Regions from separate parts of the Homo sapiens genome. Here region 1 is linked to region 2. Evidence: promoter capture Hi-C in human tissues and cell types (Jung and others, 2019). All regions are on one chromosome and are shown on one strand. The core of a region is centred on a gene start or on the middle of the fragment in contact, and the rest is flanking DNA. Distances in the headings are between cores, read along the strand shown.

The links. The method cuts DNA at HindIII sites, captures the fragments that hold promoters and counts their contacts. A contact is called where the count stands out against the background at its distance.
Region 1: a contact is called between a fragment that was not itself captured here and the fragment with the promoter of PRPH2 in region 2, in 2 of the 25 tissues and cell types used here (heart right ventricle and spleen).

Annotation. Positions count from the first base shown.
Region 1 is chr6:42,851,479-42,855,357 of GRCh38, reverse strand. BICRAL (BICRA like chromatin remodeling complex associated protein) reads right to left here. Exons shown (of 13, transcript NM_001393499.1): 7 at 3,161-3,266; 8 at 1,620-1,720. Among named protein-coding and RNA genes, the nearest start is that of RPL7L1, 26 kb to the left of the region's middle. The HindIII fragment of the contact is 4,425 bases long and covers 1-3,879 here.
Region 2 is chr6:42,721,324-42,725,802 of GRCh38, reverse strand. PRPH2 (peripherin 2) reads left to right here and starts at 3,206. Exons shown (of 3, transcript NM_000322.5): 1 at 3,206-4,049. The coding sequence starts at 3,469. The HindIII fragment of the contact is 25,287 bases long and covers 1-4,479 here.

The DNA.
Region 1 (3,879 bases), core at 838-3,337, 130 kb before region 2:
TATTTTCCAGGCTTGTCTCGAACTCCTGGACTCAAGCCATCCGCCTGCCTTGGCCTCCCAAAGTGTTGGGATTACAGGTGTGAGCCACAGCACTGACCCATCGTTATATTTTTGAAATTCCACAGACATCTGAAAAGTCAGTAGATACTATCTAATCCATCTTCTCAGTGTAAGTATGGGATACACACTTTTAAGCTCCTGTTATATATAGTCCAGGTGTGTGATCTAACGAGGCATTTTTTACATCATGTTAAGGAAACAAATAGGCCTTATCTCAGAACCTTAGAACTGAACAGATCCTTCACTGTGTATTCCAGGCAGTCCCACACTGCAGCAAGTTTCATTCAACCACTAATTGGTAGGTCTGATGGAAACGAAACTGTCTTAGTAAGCTGAAAACAAGAAATGTTTCCTTCCATTTTAGACTAGTAGTTTGAAATCTTTTAGGTTTAAAAGCCAAACTTGAAGTTATCAAATGTGCCCTGAAAATATGTACATCTATCATGTATCAAAAAAACAAACAAACAAAAAAAACTAGGCCAGGAGTGGTTGCTTAAGCCTGTAATTCTAGCACTTTGGTAGGCTGAGGTGGGAGAATTGCTTGAGCCCAGGAGTTTCAGACCAGCCTGGCCAACATGGCAAAACGTTTTCTCTTAAAAAAAATATAAAAATATTAGCCAGGCGTGGTGGTGCGTGCCTGTAGTCCCAGCTACTCAGGAAGCTGAGGTGGGAGGATCGCATGAGCCCAGGTGATCGAGGCTTCAGTGAGCTGTGATCACACCACTGCAGCACAGTCTGAGTGACAGGGTGAGACCCCAACTCAAAACAAAACAAAAACAAAAACAAAAACAAAACAAAAAACCCAGCTGGACTAGACAGGGCACAGTGGCTCACACCTGTAATCCAGGTACTTTGGGAGGCTGAGGTGGGTGGATGGCTTGGGCCCAGGAGTTTGAGACAGGTGTGAGCAACATGGCAAAATCCTATCTCTACAAAAAATACAAAAAAACAGCTGGGCATTGTCCTAGCTACCCAGAAGGCTGAGGCAGGAGGGTCACCTGAGCCTGGGAGGTCAAGGCTGCAGTAAGCTGTGATTGCACTACTGCATGCCAGCCTGGGTGACAGAGTGAGACCCTGTCTCAAACAAAAACCAAAAAGTTGGACTTTAAAAAGTGTCAAAGTTGGGTCAAAAGACCGTAGGGATGGCCTACTTCCTATACGCCTGGTTACTACTACAGAAAAACAAAAATCCCTCAGTATAACTAAGAAGAAGAGATTCGCTTTGATATAATAGTGAACGATATCACCTAGTAGTAAATGACATTTTTTGAGTGCCTAGTATGTACTAGCTGCTGGTATATTACTAATTCATGAGGAAATGATGGATTAATGAAGCACTGTAAACATGTCAGAAATAGAATAGACATTCATCTCAGAAACATAAACATAACAAGGCCCAGCCCACCAGGAAGGTCTTCAATGACCACCCTGTTGTGGGCACACAGGGGACTGGGTGGACTGTGCACACAAAGCTAGCCAGCAACCACAAAGATAGCACGACTACATTTTCATTCAATTATGCCGAACATTAGGAAGAGGCTATGCCAATAGTTTTCTACCTGCACAGCTGGATGGCCAGGAGATGATCCAACTACTTTTTCCTGCTGTGGTTGTGCGGTTCCTAAGGATGCGGATATAACTTTGCTTCCAGAATCCTGCCCTATTAGAATTAATACATGAGACAGTGTTCAAAAGAAACAGTAAATTGGGTCCATCATATAACCCTAGAACCCAATGGGTACAGACTGTTGAGCATTCTGAAACGGGTTTCTTTATCATGGCTGCTTGCTGTGAAGAAGGAGGGCAGGGTAGTGCATTTACTTACAAGCTCTAAAGGAAGAGGTTATTAAAGCCTATTTAAGTAATAAATAAGTAAATAGTAATAAATAGAAGCTCCAAATGCTATAGTTTCAAATTATTTATAGTCTGAAAAACAGGCCTCAAGCCAGTAATCTGTCAGCACTACAGAATCCCAAAATACAATTTAAGGAAAGGGAGGCCCAAAGAGGCAATTGACTGGGAATATTCAAGCTTTTTCTCTTTCTTGCCTTTTTTTTTTTAAGTACTAATTGGGTACTGCAGATGTTCAAAGCCTTAGAAAAAACGGAAGACATAGTCCATAATATTTTCAGTCTGGGTGGAGAATTCCAAACATGCATGTAGAGAGCAACATGGGGATAATTTCAAAGTCACAAGTACTGTAAAATACCTTTTCTTTTTTTTTTTTTTTTTTGAGACAAGGTCTTGTTCTGTCGCCCAGGCTGGAGTGCAGTGGCGCAATCATAGCTCACTGCAGCCTCGACCTCCCAGGCTCAGGTGATCCTCCTGCCTCAGCCTCCTGGGTAGCTAGGACAATGCCCAGCTAGTACAGACAGGGTTTCACCATGTTGGCCAGGCTGGTCTTGATCTCCTGACCTCATGATCTGCCCGCCTCGGCCTCCCAAAGTGCTGGGATTACAGGTGTGAGCCACCGTGCCCGGCCTCAATTTATTGTTTCTAAGAAGTATTTTTTTTCCACATAATTTAATGTGTCATAATTTAGATAGAAGTGCTTGTTTTTCTTTTTGGTAGTATAAAAAATGATAGTACATCTTACAATTGATGCTATCTTAGTGGGGTTTTTTTTTTTTTTTTTTGAGACAGAGTCTCGCCCTGTCACCCAGACTGGAATGCAGTGGTGTGATCTCAGCTCACTGCAAGCTCTGCCTCCCGGGTTCAAGCGATTCTCCTGCCTCAGCCTCCTGAGTAGCTGGGATTACGGGCGTGTGCCACCATGCCTGGCTAATTTTTGTATTTTTAGTAGAGATGGGGTTTCATCATGTTGGTCGGGCTGGTCTTGAACTCCTGATCTCAGGTGATCCACTCTCCTTGGCCTCCCAAAGTGCTGGCATTACAGGCGTGAGCCACCGTGCCCGGCCCAATGCTATCTTAGAGTTGATGCAACACAGTATATTATTTGCGGAAAGGATACAGAAAGAAAGGAATAATCGGAGTGGAGACGAGATTAAGCCAGAAAGCTTTCGTGCAGAATGAGGGAGAAAAGTGAGAAGAGCATCCCGTGGTGTTGGGAGGACAGGGACAAACTGAGGAAGCTCCTGACCTGGCAGTGTGGTGCTCAAGAGCCCAGGGATCTGTGCTTGCCTCAGGCCGTCTGTGGTCTTGGGAGCAGAAATGGGGGAAGTCTGATTCAGACATTTTTTCTGAGCCTGTGAAACATGACAAAGATGAAAACATTAATTTCATTTCTAAAGCTTTAACAGATTATTTTAAATACCAACCAAGCCTCTTCATGCCTCCCTGGTACCTTCAGGTTAGATTATAAACAAACCAAAAATTTAATAATTGTATTTTCTTATCACTTCAGGGGAACTGCAAAGTACATCCTTTAACAATCTGCAGGCACACTGAATTTTCCTGATGCCATTCAGCGGGGATGCTGAGTTGATACCAGGCTATTTTCTTGCTCCCGGGGCTGCTGTGTTTGTGGTGCTCAGATGAAAAAGCTGCAGCTGGGAATTTCTACCCCCAGTAACCTTATATCCTGCCTGCTAGGATTATGATCCTGACTATCAGCTCCTATGTGGGGTCTGCACAGACTCCAAGCACCTGGTCAGGGACCAAGGGCCAACCCCAAATTTTTTGTCACCACTCATTGTTTTGCTGTGTAGATGATATAAAGTATATTTCATCACTACCATCTGGTATATCTCTAGTTTGTGTTGTGTCAACATCAGGTGGCATGCAATTGAGAAATGAAAATCAATTTAATATTAGCCTGAGCAAAATATAATTAGAAAAATTAATCCAATGTTTAAATTG
Region 2 (4,479 bases), core at 1,957-4,456:
CTGCAACCTCTGCTTCCTGGGTTCAAGTGGTTCTTATGCCTCAGCCAGCCTCTGGGAGTATAGCTGGGGTTACAGGTGCCTGCCACCATGCCCAGCTATTTTTTTTTTTTTTGTATTTTTAGTAGAGATGGGGCTTCACCATGTTGGCCAGGCTTGTCTTGAACTCCTGACTTCAAGTGGTCCACTTGCCTTGGCCTCCCAAAGTGCTGGAATTACAGGCATGAACCACCACACATGGCCTTGGTTTGTTCTTAAAAGCCCTTGTACTTATGCACAGGCTGTTCTGAGAAGTAAGATTATTGGATCTTTGGGAATTTTAATGCATTTTAAATTTTAGGGTGGGTGAGGTGGCTCACACCTGTAATCTCAGCAATTTGGGAGGTTGAGGCAGAAGGATTGCTTGAGCCCAAGGAGTTTGAGACTAACCTAGGCAACACAGCAAGACTCCGTCGCTAAAATTTTTTTTTGAAAATTGTAATAGGTATAGCTAAATTGCCCTTCCAAAGGGCTGTAAAACTTTACACTCTAAAGAAAACAAACAACATTATTAAAAAGTGAGCATGCTGGGCATTGTGGCAGGTACCTGTAATCCCAGCTTCTCAGGAGGCTGAGGTGGGAGGATTGCTTGAGAATAGTAGTTGGAGACCAGCCTGGACAACATAGATAGATCCTGACTCAAAAAGAAATAAAAGCAGGCAAAAGTGCTGAACAGACACTTCACCAAAGAAGATATGCAGATGGCAAATAAGCACATGACACATGAAAAGATCAAATGTCATTAGGGCACTGCAAATTCAAACAAGATGCAGCTACACACCTATTACAGTGGTTAAAATCTGAAACACTGACAATATCAAATGTTGGCAAGGACATGAAGTAAAAATTGCTGGTAGGAATGCAAAATTGTACAGTCACTTTGCAAGACAGATTGGCAGTTTCTTACAAAGTTAAACATAGTCTTACTATGTAATCTAGCCATTGTGCTCCTAGATATTTACCCAGATGAATGGAAAATTTTTCAGCAAAAACCTGCACGTGGATGTTTATAGCAGTTTTATTCATAATTGTCAAAAACTGGAATCAACCAGGATATTCTCTGATAGGTGAAGGAATAAACCGTGGTACATCCATGTGATGAAACGTTATTCAGTGATAAGAAGAAATGAGCTATTAAGCCGTGAAAAGATACAGAGAATCATTAATCACATATATTGCTAAGGGAAAGAAGCCAGTCTGAAAAGGCTACATGTTGTATGATTCCAACTGTAAGATATTCTAGATAAGGCAAAACTATAGATCTAGACGGTGGTTGCCCAGGGCTGAGGAGTGAGGGAAGGAGGAATGAATAGGCAGAACATGGCAGGTTATTAGAGTAGTGGAAGTATTCTGTATGATACAATAATGATGAATACATGACATTATGCATTTGGCAAAAGTGACAGAATTATATGCACAAAGACTGAACCTTAATGTAAACTATAGACTTTAGTTAATAATAGTGCATCAATATTGGTTCATTAATTGTAACAAATGTACCACATTAATGCAAGATATTAATTAGAGGAGAAACTGGTTGGGGAGATGGAGAATAATGGGAACTCCCTGTATTTTCTGTTCAATTTTTTTGTAAACCTAAAACTACTGTAAGAAATAATCCATTAATTAATAATAATAATAAATGTACAGATTCACCAAGAGTGTACACTTCTACTTCCACTCTCTTTGTTGATGTATGGTGACAGAATTTTGACATACATTCAATTTGATGGATCGAGTTTGGTCTTTTTCTTTTTTTGAGACGTCATTTCACTCTTGTCACCCAGGCTGGAGTGCAATGGCGCAATCTTGGCTCACTGCAACCTCCACTTCCCGGGTTCAATTGATGCTCCTTCCTCAGCCTCACAAGTAACTGGGATTACAGGTGCCTGTCACCATACCCAGACAATTTTTGTATTTTTAGTAGAGACAGGGTTTCACCATGTTGGCCAGGCTGGTCTTGAATGCCTGACCTCAAGTGATCCACCCACCTTGGCCTTCCAAACTGCTGGGATTACAGGTGTGAACCACTGTGCCCGGCCAAGTTTGGTATTTTATTGTTGTTTGGATTTGCATTTTCCTGCTTATTACCCAAGTTGAGATCTTTTCCAGATTATTGGACTTTTCAAGTTTCCTAATTATGAATTGTCTGTTCCTGGTTTTTGCCTATTTTTCCAGTTGATTATTGGTCTTTTGATTGTGAATTTTTGTTTATTGTGAATTTGTGAGACTTAAAACATTTTTGCATATTAATTCTTTTTTTTTTTTTTCCAGACAGAGTCTCACTGTCACCCAGGCTGGAGTGCAATGTGGGGATCTCAGTTCAGTGCAACCTCCACCTCCTGGGCTCAAGCGATCCACCTGCCTTGGCCTCCCAAAGTACTGGGATTACAGGCATAAGCCACCATGCCTGGCCACTGTATATTACTTTTTAATTTTACAAGTTGCAAATGTTTTCTCACGATCTGTCACTTTCTTTCTTTCCTTCCTTCTTCTCTTCTTTTCTTTGTCTTTTTAAAATTTGAGACAGGGCCTCACTCTGTCACCCAGGCTGGAGTGCAGTGGCACGATCATGGCTCAGTGCAGCCTTGAACTCCCCAGGCTCAGGTGATCTTGCCACCTCAGCCTCCAGAGTAGCTGGGAGAACTACAGGTGCATGCCACCATACCCAGCTAATTTTTTTTTTTTTTTTTTTGTGTGTGTGTGTGTGTGTGTGGAGATGGGGTCTTCCTATGTAGCCCAGGCTGGTCTTGAACTCCTGGGCTCAAGTGATCCACCCAACTTGGTCTCCCAAAGTGCTGGGATTATAGGCGTGATCCACTGTGCCTGGCCCTGTCATTTCTTTTCTCAGAGAGGATAACAATTTATTTGTCCTACAGAAAGTTTTAAATGTTGAAGGAGATTGGCCTGGAAATATGCTTTTGGGGAGCAACACGGTCTGAGCCAGACATCCAGATACAGCCCATTCTTCTGGCCAGTCTTGCCCTTTGCTCCTGATTCTCCAAGCTGTACCCAGAGCTTTCTGGTTCAGCATGTACCTGGAGGCTGCTTTTGACCATGTTTTGAGAGTGGCATGGCTTTATCTAATGGGATGAACCTGGCTAAAGAGATTAGCAAAATGTCTTGTGGATCCCACTTTTAATCTGCAGCGTTCAGGCTGCCCCTTCTTGGCTGGGAAGGGCGCTGAAGAAACAACGCCCAGGACCAGGACTATCCCCTGCTCAAGCTGTGATTCCGAGACCCCTGCCACCACTACTGCATTCACGGGGATCCCAGGCTAGTGGGACTCGACATGGGTAGCCCCCAGGGCAGCTCCCTACAGCTTGGGCCATCTGCACTTTTCCCAAGGCCCTAAGTCTCCGCCTCTGGGCTCGTTAAGGTTTGGGGTGGGAGCTGTGCTGTGGGAAGCAACCCGGACTACACTTGGCAAGCATGGCGCTACTGAAAGTCAAGTTTGACCAGAAGAAGCGGGTCAAGTTGGCCCAAGGGCTCTGGCTCATGAACTGGTTCTCCGTGTTGGCTGGCATCATCATCTTCAGCCTAGGACTGTTCCTGAAGATTGAACTCCGAAAGAGGAGCGATGTGATGAATAATTCTGAGAGCCATTTTGTGCCCAACTCATTGATAGGGATGGGGGTGCTATCCTGTGTCTTCAACTCGCTGGCTGGGAAGATCTGCTACGACGCCCTGGACCCAGCCAAGTATGCCAGATGGAAGCCCTGGCTGAAGCCGTACCTGGCTATCTGTGTTCTCTTCAACATCATCCTCTTCCTTGTGGCTCTCTGCTGCTTTCTGCTTCGGGGCTCGCTGGAGAACACCCTGGGCCAAGGGCTCAAGAACGGCATGAAGTACTACCGGGACACAGACACCCCTGGCAGGTGTTTCATGAAGAAGACCATCGACATGCTGCAGATCGAGTTCAAATGCTGCGGCAACAACGGTTTTCGGGACTGGTTTGAGATTCAGTGGATCAGCAATCGCTACCTGGACTTTTCCTCCAAAGAAGTCAAAGAGTGAGTGGCTTCCAGTCCTGGGGTCAGAGCTATGAATATATTGGGGACACTGAGGCTCAGGCCTCTGACCAGCCCCTCTCCCCGCACCCAGTGCCTTTTCCTCTCCATCGGGTGCACAACTTATTGCTGCGTATGTGAGGGTGTATCAGGTGGAACCATATGAAATTGCTAATATTCTACCTCTTTGACCCATAAAAAATGACAACTTCATAGGGTTCAACCTAACATTGGCTAAGGTGGTAGGAAGGTATCAATTTATATAAGCTGTTTGGATAGGAGCCCCTTGGGATGAAGAGCCAGGCAGCAATGTGTGTCCACTTTATACAGAGGGATGGAAGTCATTCATAGATCACAAACACTGAGGTACTATTTGGCTATTTGTCCCATTCATTCAAAGTAGATGGATTCAGTCCCAGAAGTTTAAATTTCC